3 separate regions of the Homo sapiens genome follow, and all the other regions are linked to region 3. The links are contacts of gene promoters, found by promoter capture Hi-C in human tissues and cell types (Jung and others, 2019). All regions are on one chromosome and are shown on one strand. Each heading gives the region's core, a stretch centred on a gene start or on the middle of the fragment in contact. The rest is flanking DNA. Distances are from core to core; before and after follow the strand shown.

Region 1 (2,856 bases), core at 188-2,687, 530 kb after region 3:
ATCAGTTAACATATAATTACTTAACAACACATTAAAATAGTATGTCTAATATATTATTCCAGTCACATTTCAAAGAACAAATTTTAGTTAAACTCCTCACATTCATCTCCGATGTCTAGGGTCATCATAACCACAACCACTTTTTAATGATCTAATCTCTGTGACCTCAAACATCAGTTTTATACGGTTTAAGTTGTTTGAGATATGGCCCTTTCTGAACTACAACGTCACTTGACCATTTATCCCTAATTACTACTACAGATTGGGTATCCCTAATCCAAAAATCCACAATCCAAATGCTCCAAAATCCAAAATCTTTTAAGTGCCAGCATAACACTCAAAGACAATACTCGTTGGAGCATTTCAGATTTTGTTATCTTTTGTTTTTTGAGATGGAGTTTCACTCTTGTTACCCAGGCTGGAGTCCAATGGCACAATCTCAACTTACTGCAACCTTTGCCTCCCAGGTTCAAGCGATGATTCTCCTGCCTCAGCCTCCCGAGTAGCTGGGATTACAGATGCCTGCCACCACGCCCAGCTAATTTTTGTATCTTTAGTAGAGACGGGGTTTTGACATGTTGGCCAGGCTGGTCTCAAACTCCTGACCTCAGGCGATCCACCTGCCTCGGCCTCCCAAAGTGCTGGGATTACAAGGGTGAGCCACTGTGCCTAGCCACGTTCCAGATTTTGAATTTTCAGATCAGGGATATTCAACCAACAAGTATAATGCAAATATCAAAATCCAAATAAATCCAAAATCCAAAACGCTTCTGGTCCCAAGTATTTTGGATAAGGAACACTCAACTTGTAGTGCTCATTCACAGAAGAGGAAGCCACTTTCCCCTGTACTGTAGGCGTGTATTTATAACCTTCATGATGTAACTAACCCCTTACTATATTATTTTTTAATATACCTAATAATCCTTCAAAAAAGCTTGCATAGATCTAATACTTACAGGTTTTAAGGCTGTACTCAGGGAATGATTATTCAATTTGTGTTAAATTCTACACTAACTGCATCTTCTGTAAGTATCTGTAAGTACCCAACTGGCACTGAGTAAGGTACATTTCAAGCCTATGTGTTCTCTTCAGATGGTCATTTGCTGTTAAAAGTAATTTAGAAATCACCCTGTAATATGAGCTACTTTAGAAGGACTTGAAATATAAGCCTTTTGGGATGGCAACACTTCACCTAATAGGCACATAAGATAATTAACAGTATTTTAGAATACCAATGGCTTTCCATAAACAAGCAATTGCTGCCAACCATAATGGAATAAAAAAAAAGACTGACTTTCAGACACTGGACCCTGTGAGAAGAGAAACTAATGAGGTGAGTCCTGTAAATGCCCAGAAAAAGTTTCCTGGCTGTAGCAGAAGGGGGAAACTCAACGAAACCCAGCAGCCTTAAGTTGAGGAGAAAGCGTTGAGAATAAACAGAGCTAAAACTCACAGGTAAGAGTACCAGAAAGGAGAGAGCGGGACAGAAAAAGCTCCAGAGATCTGCAGAGTTCCCCTCGAGTCTTCAGATTAGTTTTGATCAGTACATGCATGTAAGGAAACTTCAAGGTGAGGAAAAAATCTTAGAAAGCAGCAAATGGAACAAAACCCAGAGCTCACGCAAGGCCAAGAATAATGAAAACTCATAATATACTGGGCAGTGGGGATAGCCTTCTACAACCAAATGTTGCTCAGTCCCACTGAAAAAGCTTAAAAGCAGCCAGGCGCGGTGGCTCACACCTGTAATCCCAGCACTCTGGGAGGCCAAGGAGAGTGGATCACGAGGTCAGGAACTCAAGACCAGCCTGACCAACATGGTGAAACCCCGTCTCTACCAAAAATACAAAAATTAGCCAGGCGTGGTGGCACATGCCTGTAATCCCAGCTACTCAGGAGGCTGAGGTAGGAGAATCACTTGAACCCAGGAAGCGGAGGTTGCAGTGAGCCGAGATCATGCCACGGCACTCCAGCCTGGGCAACGGGGCAAGACTCCGTCTCAAAAACAAACAAAAAAGCAGTCTGAATGGCATCAAACTCTTTCCAAGTCATTTAACTACATCCCAAAACAAAGCTCAAGAATATTTAAAAGAATAAAAAAATATCTAGGCCCCCAAAAGGTAAAATTCACAACGTCTGCCAAATTCATCCAAATTATCAAGCATGTAAAGAAGCAAGGAAACACGATCCAGAGAAGAGAAAAAAAATCAATCAATAAAAACTGACCCAGAAATGACACATAATAGAATCAGTAGACAAAAACATTTTAAAAGTTACTTTAACTCTGTCCCTTATGTTTATGAAGACAGAGAAGGATAGAGTGTGTTAATTAGACAAAAATAAAAACGAAACTATCGAGACCAACCTGGGCAATCCAGCAAGACCCCATCTCTGCCAAAAAATTAAAAAAAAAAATTGCCCAGCCTGGTGGTATACATGTGTAGCCCCAGGTACTTGGGGAGGCTGAGGCAGCAGGACTGCTTGAAGCCAGGAGGCTGAGGATGCAGTGGGCCATGACCACATCACTGCACTGCAGCCTGGGCGACGCAGCAAGACCCTGTCTCCAAAAAGAAGGAGAGGGAGAGGAGAAGAGAAGAGAAACTAAATCAAGCTTCTAGAGGTAAACTGTCTGAAATAAAAAACTGACTGAGATTAATAGTATACTAGATACTTGAGAAGATTAATGAACTTGAAGACATAGCAACAGCAATTGTCTAAAATTTAACATACCAACGAAAAAGACTGAAAAAAGATTAATCATATCAGTGAACTGCAGACAAAGTCAACCAAACCAATATACAAGTACTGGAATCCCTGAAAGCAAAGGGGAAGGAAGAGAAAAAATATTTGCAGAAATAA
Region 2 (2,843 bases), core at 212-2,711, 570 kb after region 3:
AAAATGAACCGGGCATGGTGGCAGGTACCTGCAATCCCAGCTACTCAGGAGGCTGAGGCATGAGAATTGCTTGAACCCGGCAGGCAGAGGTTGCAGTGAGCTATTGCGCCACTGTACTCCAGCCTGGGCGACATAGCGAGACTCCTTCTCAAAACAAACAAACAAAAACGAATGGATTTAAACAAGTTGGCAAGTCACTTTGCGTGCCACTACATTTTGAAATGTCAAGGGGGATTGGGATGAGAAAGTAATTCAAGAAATTGCTATATATGATGAAAGACTGAATACACACCAGACCATATATGACAACAGAACTCTGTGATCCACAACCTCTGCAGCAAGCAACCCAGGAAATCAGACAACAACCACTGCAGTAATTGGCCTAAAATAATCAGAACTTGGTCAATGACTGCCAGCTTCCCTATTTTTTTTTTTTTTTTTTTGAGACGGAGTCTCACTCTGTCGCCCAGGCTGGAGTGCAGTGGCGCGATCTCGGATCACTGCAGGCTCCGCCTCCCGGGTTCACACCATTCTCCTGCCTCAGCCTCCCGAGGAGCTGGGACTACAGGCACCCGCCACCACGCCCGGCTATTTTTTTTGTATTTTTTAGTAGAGACGGGGTTTCACCATGTTAGCCAGGATGGTCTCGATCTCCTGACCTCGTGATCCGCCTGCCTCGGCCTCCCAAAGTGCTGGGATTACAGGCGTAAGCCACCACGCCCGGCCCAGCTTCACTAATTTTTACCATCTTTCAACTCAAGGCCAATCAGAGAAAGGCAAGTATTCTCCCTAAATCAATCATACAAAATGCCTTGCTTCTAGTTATCTTGCCTCCAGCTTTTCCATACCTGAGGATCTCCTTTTCTCTTCTTTTAATTATAAAGCTTTCCTACTCCCTTGCCTGCCTTTGAGCCTCTGCCAAATGCAAGTGACGGTGCTCACTCCCTCGCTATAGCAAGCTCTGTATAAATAGCCTCTGTTCTCATTCAGGTGGTCATCACTTACTTCCACAGACAGGGAAAGTTCCTAAAAACAGACAGAAAAATTGTTTAGTCTGCTACTTTAATAAAAGCCTTATTCATCAGGTCATTCAGTAAACTAATCTGTATGATGCAACTACTATGAGCCAGGAACTAAAACAAATTCTATTTCTCTAGGAAAATTTGTCTGAGAAGGAAATTGCAAAGCTGAAGCCTTGGGACTTGAAAATTCAAATCTTCCGTCTTTGTTTATGGTCTGTAGCAGGCAAACAACTTCGAACTTCTCAAGGTTGCTTGGCTAAACACGAACGAGTGGATGAAGAGAACACCTCAGCAATAAATATAATGCCTGGAAAAGAATTTTACTAAGAACAATGTTTTTTATGCCACTTTTTAATTTTTTTAAAAATTTCTCATTACCTCTGAAGATTTGTGACACTATTGTTTGAGCCATTATTTTTTAAATGATACATATAACTGCTTGTCTAGGATGGTTTCTCTTTCTTTCTCTTTCTCTCAATTATCTTCAGTTTTCTAATCTAGACCACAAAGTTCTCCATTAATAAAGTTGGCAAACAAAGTGTCTGAAAACATTTTGTTACAGGGAATGATATTCTGCTAAGTTTTACTGAAGATGGAATTTTCATTAGTACTGCTAATGAACCATTCTTATTCCTTTTGGGAACTATGATTTATTAAAAGAATTGTACGTTTTTTAAAAACACCAAAAGAATTACACTCATTCATTTTCAATATGACTAGGGTATTTGCAATAGAAAACTTAGTGAGTATTCCCTAAAGTCACGGTGGCTTTTAAACACTGCATAATTCTGGGTATTAACATCAGGAAAGCATTGCACTGTTCCTCATTAGAAGGATAATGCCATTATAATAGCTTTACTCTGAGGCATAAAGCGGTTAAATGAAGCACCAGAAAAGGAAAAGCAAAAGTTTGTTTGGTGAATCATTCTTTTCTATGGTTTGGTGACCCTAAATTGAGCCAGAAAAGAATGCAGCTAGTGGCTTAATTTGAAGAATTTCCCAAGGAAATGATGCAATACTGTACAATTCTTATTGGTCTCTAACCTCTGGGATCTCTGTTCATGAAGCTGCCTATTAACACAGCTTTGCAAGTTAATTGTGAACAAATCAGGAGAGAATAAAAACTCAAACATAAATCTCTGATCTAACCACTTCATTTAGGAAGGGATTTGGAAGATCTTCTCGGACCAGTGTTTTTGATTCTCTTCTTTGCATTGTGACCTTATACTGGAAACTCAGGTGTGACTGCTATTATTCTGGTCCCAAGTGCCAGGAAGTTCAGATCAGGTTGAGGGCAAGCTCAGGCCAGGGTGACTCTGAGGTCAGGCTATTCACATGTCTTTTCTTAGGCTAGGATCGCTTGAGGAACACAACCACGTTGCTGGGGTTAATAGATCTATTCTCCAAAGCCAAAGTATTTGGCATGGTCAGCATAATTGTACTGTGTGTTGCAATTGGGCTCTGAGCACAGAGTCTTGCTGAGTGCCTTATGAATTTGGTCATGGAGAGAAGGCTGGTGCAGGAGTGAGCAAGGGAAACTCCTATTCAGAGAAAGTTTTTACTCCAGAAATCACCATTCCTTAGGAGAAGATTGCTTTAAAAAATTTTTTTTTAAATTTTTTATTTTTTGAGTTGGAGTCTCACTCTGTCGCCCAGGCTGGAGTGCTATGGAGGGATCTTGGCTCACTGCAACCTCCGCCTCCTGGGTTCAAGCGATTCTCCTGCCTCAGCCTCTCCAGTAGCTGGGATTACAGGCACCCGCCACCACACCCGGCTAATTTTTTGCCATGTTGGCCAGGCTGGTCTCGGACTCCTGACCTC
Region 3 (3,034 bases), core at 486-2,985:
CCAGTCTGTTCTTGGAGGGTATAGCGCCTTGAATTTCCAGTCCTATGCAGGATCACAGTCCTGACTTCTTGTATAGGCCCAAGTCCTTGTCTTTAGTTTCCTGTGCACCTATTAAAACTCTAGAGATTTCTGAGATAAGTAGGTGCCCTCAACACAACCATGGCTTCACTGCCCTGCTTACCACTCTGGTGTCCTGCCCCTTCTTCAGGTTGAGTGTGAAATTTGGAAGACTGTCAGAAACATTCTATTTTCATTCTTGCAAGTTATGCCTTTGAAAGGATGTCTTATTTATCCAGTGTTTCTGTGTGTTTAATAATCAGAGCATTTTTCAGGTTATCTCTTACTGTGCCATGTTGCTCCTTGATTCCTTTCTCTCCTGTACCCACTGCATCAATTGAGTTTTTTGCTCTACATTGATAGAGAAGCACAATTCCTCTTTCTTTCCACTGCCTTCCTACTTTATTTCCCTTCTATTCTTGCATCTCTATACTCCATTATCCACATTGCAGTCTAGTGATCTTAAAGTGTAAGCCAGGTAACATCGCTTTCCTGCTTAAAAAAGCCTTTTAATGGTTTTTTGTAATATAGACTTTTTACCATGGCATTCAGGATCTTTCATGACCTGAATCTTGTCTGCTGTAGTGTTTTCTTAATAGTACCGCCTTCTTGTTCTAGGCCCCAGCTACACAGGCCTTCTTAACTGACCGTAGCAAGCCCTTTTCTTTCTTCTCCTGCCTGTATTGCTTTTCTCTGGGTGCTTCTTATTGCTGTCTCTTTCTGTTCTTGCCTTAAGTGTCACCTCCTTAACGAGGCCTTCTCCGACCACCCTATCCAAAGTAACCTCGCCAAGTTTTTTCTTATACCAGGTGTGACTACTTTAATTACTGCGTCCTCATATAAGCTCCACAAAGGCTTGGTGAATCGTGTTCACCCTTGCATTTCTTTTGTGTTTTTTGTTTTGTTTTTGAGGCATGACGACTCTGTCACGCTGAAGTGCAGTGGCCCGATCTTGGCTCACTGCAGCCTCCTCCTCCTGGGTTCAAGCGATTCTCCTGCCTTAGTCTCCCGAGTAGCTGGGACTACAGATGCGTGCCACCATGCCCAGCTAATTTTTGTATTTTTAGTAGAAACGGGGTTTCATCGTGTTGGCCAGGCTGGTCTCGAACTCCCGACCTCAGGTGATCCGCCTGCCTCAGCCTCCCAAAGTGCTGGGATTACAGGCGTGAGCCACCGCACCTGAACCACCCTTGTATTTCTGATGCTTAACAGTGTCTAGTCCATATCAGACACTCAAATATTTGTAGAATAAGTGAAACATTGATGAACTCCTCCGTGGATAAAATAGGGAAGTCTTAATTTGCAAGGAGGTGATACTTAATTTAGCAGCAAAATTTTAGTTAAGAATTTGTAAGCAAAAAAGCAAAATGGATAACGGATGAATTCCCAGAAACAAATGTCGCGGAGCAGATGTGTATAACAGCAATCGTCTGTCAGCGTCTTCCGTCGGCAGAGACCTGCTTGGAGACAATGCTGAATTAAATGAGGGACTGGCTGCTCCTCTCAATACAAAGACTACCCAAGGAATAAAAGCAACGTCTATCACCGAACTACTACTCCCAGCGGCCCCCGCGCGGGCCTGCCCATGGGAGGTGGCGCTCGTCTCCGCCCCGGGGAGCTCCGGCTTCGGGGCGGGAGGGGTTCTGGGTTCTGGCCCCGCCCCGCCCCGCTCCCCGCCGTCTTCCTCCCCCAGGGTTGTGGCCACGCGCAGCGGCGGCGGTTGTTCCGCTTCCCCTCCGGCCCGGGCCGTCGCCATTGCCGAAGGCTCCCTCCCCTCCCCTCCCTGGCGTGCGCAGGACTCCGCCGCCGCTGGGCCTAGCGGTAGCAGCGGCTGCTCCAGCGCGGCGTCTCTTCCCGCCCCGCTTCCCCTTCCCTCCCCTCCCCTCCCCGCACCGCGCGCTAGCCCGGGGCGGCTCCGCAGCCCGCCGGGAGCTCTGACCGAGGCGCCTCGCTGGGGCGGGGACCTTGCCTTGCCCGGGGTAAGTGCACACAGGCCGGCCGGCGCGGGACGCAGGCCGGGTCTCTTCCTCCTCCTTCCTTCTCCGTGGCCTGGCGGGCGGGAGCGGCCCGGGACGGCCGACCTGCCCCGCGCGGGGCCGGGGAGCCGCCACCTGCGTGCTGGGAGCCGCAGCTCCTGGGGCGGTGGCTCATTGTCTGCTCCCCAGGGCCGTTTTCTTCGCTGGCTTTAGCCAGAAATGGGAAGCTCGCTGGGCTGCGGAGGTCTGACTCTTCCTGGACCCAGCCCTGCTCTGAACCTCGCGGCACCACGGTCTCTGCCGACTCTCGGTCTTCCCTCCCCTCGCGTTTCACCCTCTTCCTTTGCTCCGTTTTCTTAATGCTGGACCAGACTCTCCGGTTTTGTTCCTTGATTTTTCCTCTCACTGATTCTCAGCCCCTGCTTGCTCGCTCTCTGTTCACCCGTTTCACTGCTCAGGAATATTGTCGCGAGTAGCTTGACTGTTTTCTCAGCTCCAGCCTGTAACCTCTTTTCCACATTCCACATTGGTAAAAACGTAGAGCGTCCCGGGCGCTTGAGGGCCACCGCTTACGAACTGATCTTTCGGAGCTTCTCCTCGCTCCTGTTTGAGCTTCAGCCTAGGGGTGAAATTTGCTTCTTTAGATAACTTAGGTGAAGTTAAGATTGGTTTTTCACCATGTTTGGCTCTCTTGGAAACACACGCACGCACAAACACAAAACGTTGCCACTCAACCTTTTAACTAATTCTTTAAAGATAAGTCATCCAAGAACAGAAGCGTGTCATCGTCAGTGGGTGTGAGGTTGTACCCATCCTTGTATCTTAATTTTAGTAGTACTCTCCCTGGGCAGTGTGAGCGTGATTTGTTGTCCCTTGATAAATAACGAACTCCGGTTGATATCATTATCTCACTTCTGCGTTACAGGCGATGTGTCCTTTCTTTGTTTTCTTTTTTAACCTTTATAAAAAGACAAAATGGTTAGGCCTAAAATTAAACTACG

Evidence for each region. Contacts are between HindIII fragments. The study calls those that stand out against the background at their distance.
Region 1: a contact is called between a fragment that was not itself captured here and the fragment with the promoter of PAK2 in region 3, in 1 of the 25 tissues and cell types used here (dorsolateral prefrontal cortex).
Region 2: a fragment that was not itself captured here is called in contact with the fragment with the promoter of PAK2 in region 3 in 2 of the 25 tissues and cell types used here (dorsolateral prefrontal cortex and hippocampus).

Annotation. Positions count from the first base shown.
Region 1 is chr3:197,264,052-197,266,907 of GRCh38, forward strand. The region is part of intron 4 of DLG1 (discs large MAGUK scaffold protein 1); the gene reads right to left. Among named protein-coding and RNA genes, the nearest start is that of MIR4797, 28 kb to the right of the region's middle. The HindIII fragment of the contact is 3,222 bases long and covers 1-2,856 here.
Region 2 is chr3:197,307,747-197,310,589 of GRCh38, forward strand. No RefSeq gene overlaps it. Among named protein-coding and RNA genes, the nearest start is that of DLG1, 11 kb to the left of the region's middle. The HindIII fragment of the contact is 4,492 bases long and covers 1-2,843 here.
Region 3 is chr3:196,738,122-196,741,155 of GRCh38, forward strand. It overlaps PAK2 (p21 (RAC1) activated kinase 2), which reads left to right and starts at 1,736. Exons shown (of 15, transcript NM_002577.4): 1 at 1,736-2,036. RefSeq lists a silencer at 1,527-2,316. The HindIII fragment of the contact is 11,501 bases long and covers 1-3,034 here.